Linked DNA regions of Homo sapiens: region 1 is linked to region 2. Evidence: promoter capture Hi-C in 16 types of primary human blood cells and fetal thymus (Javierre and others, 2016). All regions are on one chromosome and are shown on one strand. Each heading gives the region's core, a stretch centred on a gene start or on the middle of the fragment in contact. The rest is flanking DNA. Distances are from core to core; before and after follow the strand shown. Region 1 overlaps JARID2 (jumonji and AT-rich interaction domain containing 2). Region 2 holds the start of RNF182 (ring finger protein 182).

Evidence for each region. The method cuts DNA at HindIII sites, captures the fragments that hold promoters and counts their contacts. A CHiCAGO score of 5 or more calls a contact.
Region 1: a fragment that was not itself captured here is called in contact with the fragment with the promoter of RNF182 in region 2 in 1 of 17 cell types (total B cells); the score reaches 5.1 in total B cells.

Annotation. Positions count from the first base shown.
Region 1 is chr6:15,442,638-15,445,736 of GRCh38, reverse strand. All of the region lies in intron 3 of JARID2 (jumonji and AT-rich interaction domain containing 2), which reads right to left. Among named protein-coding and RNA genes, the nearest start is that of DTNBP1-AS1, 100 kb to the left of the region's middle. RefSeq lists an enhancer at 713-1,213. The HindIII fragment of the contact is 913 bases long and covers 1,084-1,996 here.
Region 2 is chr6:13,922,833-13,926,208 of GRCh38, reverse strand. It overlaps RNF182 (ring finger protein 182), which reads right to left and starts at 1,257. Exons shown (of 3, transcript NM_152737.4): 1 at 1,186-1,257. RefSeq lists an enhancer at 1,862-2,362. The HindIII fragment of the contact is 2,801 bases long and covers 1-1,832 here.

The DNA of each region.
Region 1 (3,099 bases), core at 291-2,790, 1.5 Mb before region 2:
TTTTCTAACCCTTGGCATTTCATTGTATTCCACATGGCCTCACACAGCACAACTGTTCCCAGGCCACAGTCGCTGGGCCCAAGAGGCGGCTCCTGACACACCTCATGCAACAAGACCACCACATACATCAGAGAGTATTTGTACTTCCTGATCAAGCTGCATGAGCTCGAAGGGGGAAAGATCCCTATTGTCCTTTCCCCATCCATCCACTCCCTAAGCTACATGGAAGGTGACTTTCTTTTTCTGCTAAGCCTCCCACAGCCACCTCTCACTTGCTGTTAGGTATCACCGCTTAAAAATTTACCAAAATCAATCTTCATTGTTTGTTGTTAAAATAAAATATATAGCACCTTTATGAGAACGAAGGAGCACAGCAAGATACACACTAACATTATTTGGAAAGTTAACCAATAAATCACGAGACCATGCTTGTAAAGAAACCCCAGGGATGAACTAACAGTCCTATGCCAAATACTTTTTTCTTTTGTAATACCCTCCCTGTGCCCCTTCCTCCCCAAATGATTGATTTAGAAGCTTCCTGGGCATCCTGCCATTAGAAGCTTCACACAAGGGTGGCACTGTTTCTCCAGGTTTCCTCTGGGGTCATCAACAGTGTAGAGTTAACCAGCTTATTGCTATCTGTGCACTCAATCTCTAGGGTAGCCCTGACTGCGGCACAACAGCAATTTCCAGGTTAATTAAATCCTATTTCTGTCCAGGATTTCTGATAGCCTGCAAACCCAAGAAGGGCATGGCGTGACACACAAATCAGCTGGATCAAGCAGGAGCAAGGGGGACCAGGCGGCTTAAAGTGAATGCACAGCTGTTCCCTTGCTGAGGGAAGTACATGCCAAAACATCATTTTATTAACTCAATTTTCCAATATTAAAAACGTAAGCTGGTAAATCCAATTATTTAGATTACATCCCAATTCTAAACAAAGGGCAAGGAAAGGGTGGGAGGGAGGGTCTGTTCATTCAAAAAAAAAAAAAAAAAAAAAATCAGACAGTTCGTGTCTGGCAAATGCAAAATGACCGGCATGGCTGCGCTCTTTGTGCCGGTGTGGGAGCTGGCCCTGAAGCTTTGCCAACTTGCTGAAAGGCCTATTCAAAAAAAAAAAAAATTTCCTGTGTTTCCATCCCCAAAATAATTACCCACTCCATTCGCCCCCCAGACACACACACTACAAACCTGGCAGCCACTCAAAGAAACAAGAGTGTGCCCGTGTGTGTGCGCACTGGAGGTTGTGGGGGGTCGGGCAAGGGATACCCTCTACCCAGGGCAAGCTGCCCACCAAATTCAAATGCAAGTGCGGTTGCGAGCAAACCACACAGAATGGTTGTAAACATCCTGAACAGTAAAGAGAAAATAAACACATCCTCAAGTGAACCCAGAGGCTAGCAGAGACCAATTCATAGCAAACTCTGTAATGAGAGGCACTAGCATAGACCATATCCTTCTAAGCGCAAGGTCCACCCAGTTCCCACAGTTTTAAACGGTCAGGGTTTGATTTACCAGAATGGGAGGGCATCACACAATGACAAAACGGGAGGTCAGCTGGCTCTGTAAGCAGAGTTATCCTACGCAGAATGCCTGCTTTATGGTACTTCTGGAGATGGAGCCCTAGTGGTCCACAGCCTCATTTCTTGCTTTACACATAAACTGATGGAACACTTTGTTTATGCAAAAAACCGCAGGATATTAAATATTTGCAGCACTTGTCTTAATTAAGTTACATAGGAAGCTATTTAGAATAAACATTTGCCATAGCCGGAATTTGCGTAAAGAAATCTTTTGTTAGTTGAATTCCCCTCAAGATGAAACATTATGATGTTTTGCTTGGTCAGTGGTACAAGCAAAAGAGTAGTGGTGTCACAAAACCTGAGTTTAGTTCACCTAACTTGTCACCTAGGGCAAGCTGGGTCTTTTTTTCTTAGGTGGTTTTTTTAAGGACTATTTTAAAAAGGGAAGCTAAGGCTCTCTCTAGCTCCAAGCTTCTGTGATCTTTGACCTCCTCTTAAAAAAACAAGTGGTACCTGAATGTAGTAATTTCTGTAATAAATCTTTTGGATCTATCATTTCGTAAGAGTAGATGAAAAGTCCTGATTATTTTGGAGAAGTAAAATCTAAATCTCCAAACTGTCAGTATTGCTAAAGATTTCTAGCGCCAACTTTCTAACTGCCAGTAAAACAGCAAAATATACTGACTTTTAAAGTGCTAGTACTACCACCTAGCACTTTAGAAGGTGGAGGGGAAGGTGAAAAATTCATTCATATATATTTTAGAAAGATATCACAATTCCAAAAATCCACTCCCCTACTCCCTTAAAGATTAAATAGTAGCAATACAATCTGTAATCTGCATTTCCTTCCACTTAGCCCTTCCAATGAGGAGTAACTCATTTAGGCAACACGTTAACTTACTTCAGAACTGTGAGTCACCCTTAGGAACGCTGACATAACTACTTAAAAATATATTCATCAGCTCTATCCATGAAGAAGCCAGCCCAAGGACAAGGCAAGCCTTGCAAATCCAAACATCACCACCACATCAGGAAGACACCATTCTTGCTCGCAGACACTTCACTCCCTTGGAATACTAAAGTGGAAAACAGGCATCAGAGAGAAAGGTGAATCTTTTTTTTTTTTAATTCCAGGGAAGGATTAGGGGGGTAGGAAAGAGGAGGAAAAAAATTAAAAAATCGAAGATAATAGCACTAAATATCTACAAGATATGAACTTTTTCCCAAATAAAACATGACTTGGTGCATATAAATCTCAGGTAGCTGGTGACATCCTGCACAAACAGTATGAAAAGTAATATGCAGTACAGTTTTTTATTCAATTAATAAAATTATTCAATTATGTTTCTTGAAATCTTCTATGGCATCCTGAAATGTCAGAGAACCAAGACTGCCTGAAAATCATGACTGTCATGATCAAGGAAACATCTGACATTGACTTCTTTTGTGTTCTAGAAAGCAACCGTGTCAAATTTGAGAGGGATCATCATTAATCAACAATTAAAGTGGCAACAAAGCCCTTTTGTTCTGTCAGTCACAAATGACACAGTTATAGTTTACCACCTATGGAAGGCTG
Region 2 (3,376 bases), core at 8-2,507:
TCTTTAAATGACCTATTCCAACTTATACATTATTTTACTAAGTTGGATATACAATTTTATATGTTAGATTATTTTCCAGTTATCAATATGACATCTCATATTGTTTAAATATGATTTAAAACAAATCTTATTAACATATATACAATTTCCTTCTGAATTGATCAACTGTATTTCTGAAAATGTATCTGTTTTCTTTCATATTACTACATGTAAGATGATGTCTAAGTACCAAAAAAAAAAGTCTTCACAGTCACAATTTAAATCTGTGCTTCGCGTCTGCAACAAACTATCACGAAATGATTGCAAGGGTTGGGGCCACTGAGAAAGGTACCTATAACCTATCCAGTGCCCCAGTGGCAACCGCATCGTGGTCCTCATCATCCCACTCATAAACACCGATGCAAACACCGCCCAGCTACCTGCCTCCAGAGGTGCTTTGGATTGCCTCCCTACACATAAAAACAAAAGGCACTTTCCAGTTCCTTACAGCATGAACACAATACCTTCTAGAAACAAAAGCAATGACCTCGGTGCCAAGTATCTCCTTGACAAAGTATCGGTACTGCTCTACATTCTGGTCTTGCTAGTCGGGGAAAGCCGGGCTACCCTTACCATCCAGTTATAGGTGCAACTGCACCTTCCAAAGAAAAAAAGGTCTTTCGATTCAATATCCAAACGAACTTCAGAAGCCTCCTCAAAATGCTTCAGCCACAGGCATAAAAATGGGCTCACTTTTCAGAGATTCGTAAAAATCTTTCGCTTGTCCCTCTTACTACCCTCCCAACCCCTCCTCAAAGAGAATGCCATGAAACATGAAAGTCCAAAGGTAAATACTTTCATACCTTTTTTTCCCCCAAAAGCCTCGATGGCACGCCAAGAAGGAAAATAACAACAACAACAGAGGGGCAGCTCCCTGAGCAGGTGCAGCCCGCGCGGGCGCTCCGCAGCCGCCCTCCGCCGCACAGCCCCTCAAGTTGGTGCCAGGACGGCGGCCCCCGTGGTGCCCGGAGGGAGACTCCGCGCGCGGGCCCCGGCGCCGCTCGGCCCGAAGTTTGCCGCCCCCTCTCCTCGGCGCGCTTGGGCGGCCCGGCGCCGTCCAGGACTGCGGGGCTGGCTGCTGCCCCAGCGTTGGGGAGGCCCGGCGTCCCGCCGACCCCTCCCCGGCCGCGGGCGCGATCGCCTTACCTGGCCGGCGGCGGCCCAGGGCCCGGGAGCCGCTCCGGCTGCGGCGGCGCCTGGGAGGGGAGGGAGGTTCCCGTGGAGGAGGAGCTCGCGCGAGGAGCTAGCGGGCTGGCGGGCGGGCGGCTTTGTCTCTACGGCGCTGAGCCGCCGACCCTGCGTCACCATGGCAACCGCCGGGGCCCCCCCGGCCCTTCCCCTCAGCAGTCCGGGTATTCGGAGAGGACAAGGACCCCCGATGGGCCGCCACCACCACAAACACGCCCCTCTCTCAGTCTCCCTCACAAACCGCCTGTTTCTCCCCAGCGAGAGGGGAAGGCTAAAGCGGAGCGAGCCCAGGGCCAAGTGGTATTCGCATCCTAGTAGGCACTCCTTTGCTTCCCCACACTGGACATTCCAACTCCCGTCGCACCACCATCCCCCCCACAGACACCCTCCACCACTACCACCACCACACCTTTCTCCTGTGGAGCTGTACCCTCAAAATGGAAATTCACTTAAGGGAGGAGAAAGAGCAATGCAAAGTGATAAAGTGTTGAGCAACTGGTACTCGGTTCTCCTGTTGCAACTGCCGCAGCATGCACGGAGCTGCCAAGGGACGCCGTGCCGCCTCCTCCCTCTCCCCCTCCTCCTCCTCTCTCTTTTAGCAAGCTTTGCCTCTGCTGGATGTGGTCTCACTCCACCCAACCCGTGTATCTGTCTTGTTGAGGGCTCCCGTAGGAGAGAGGGGAAAGGGGGCTTTATCTCTGATGTAAACACTGGATACACTTGTAACCTCAGAAGCTGAAACACAACTTTCAGGCTGCAGTATGGATCTCAGCTGCTGCCACACTGCGCAGCTACTGGCTGTGACCGCTAAGCATCTACCATGAGCCCTGAGTGACTCTGTGCCAAGGACTGGTCACGTACTGCAGGCCATGGCACTCAGGAGCAGAGAAAAGAAAGCTAACTTTTTCCTCTCCTGAGGAAATTCTTAGAGAGGGAGAGAAAAGTACCAGCAGACCCTTGGTCATGCTTCCTCTAAAGGACGAACTAGAGGGCAGCCTCCATGGGGGGAGTGAGTCATCCCTCCATACTGTTTTCTTGAAAGATCCGTTGCTGAATCCAAAAGCTACAGTGTCTTTCTTCAAACCCTGGGGAACATGACATTTATTTTTTGGCATTTGTGAATCACCAAAGGAATGTCAATGATTTATAATAAAATCCACGGTAGCTGATGTTTTCTGGGTTTACTACTTGAGAAGCCACAAAGCAGAACAATGTTATTGCCATTTGAAGGTACACCTATATTAACTAATGAAAAGATAAGATCTATTTCATGGTGGAAAAGGAAAACAGTTTGTTCCTCGGAGAGACTGGCCACTTTCTTGTAATGGGAATATTCTGAATGAAGTCAATAATATTCCAGATGAAGTCAAAAGACAAGGTCTTTTTGGCAGGCCATTAAGCATTTGGCAATACCTGCCAGAATTCAAAATGCACATACATTTCTCCCAGCTATCTCAATTCTAGAGATCTGTCATACAGAAACACACAAATGTGTAATGATAGATATAAAAGGATATGCATTGCAGAAGTTTTGTAATAGTAAATGTTTGAAACAACTTATATGCCCATCAATAGTGATATGGTTAAATAATGTGGCACTTCATACCATGTAATACTATGCATCCATTAATAAGAATAAAATATATAAAATTCATAGATATTGATTTCTTATTAAATGGAAAAGGGGGGCTCAGAACCGTATGTGTGGGTGATCCCATTCTGTACAAAAAAACTGGATATATAGGAACAGAACAAAAACATAGGGATAAAGGTCTATAAGAATGCCTACCTAATTGCTAGAAGTGGTAACCTGTTAACTACAAAAAAAATTGAAGGGACAGTTACCTCTTACGATGTACAATTTAGTACACATATTTGGTTTGTTTGGCTTTTTCAAATGAGCATTTATTAGTAATTTATCAATGAAGAAGCAAAAACAAAAAGCTTTAATAAATGTTTGTTGACCTGCATGCACATTACTGCCTGATCAAAAACTGAATACAGAACAGGGAGGGACCATTGACTTGGCCATCCCTGCCCTCAGCTGAAGGCTTGGAAAAGTCCACGTTGTGTCCCCACTTAGAGCATTGCTTAGTGACCTGGTCCTGCGTTATTCTGTGAGACATTCTTCCAGACATTCATTTTTCCA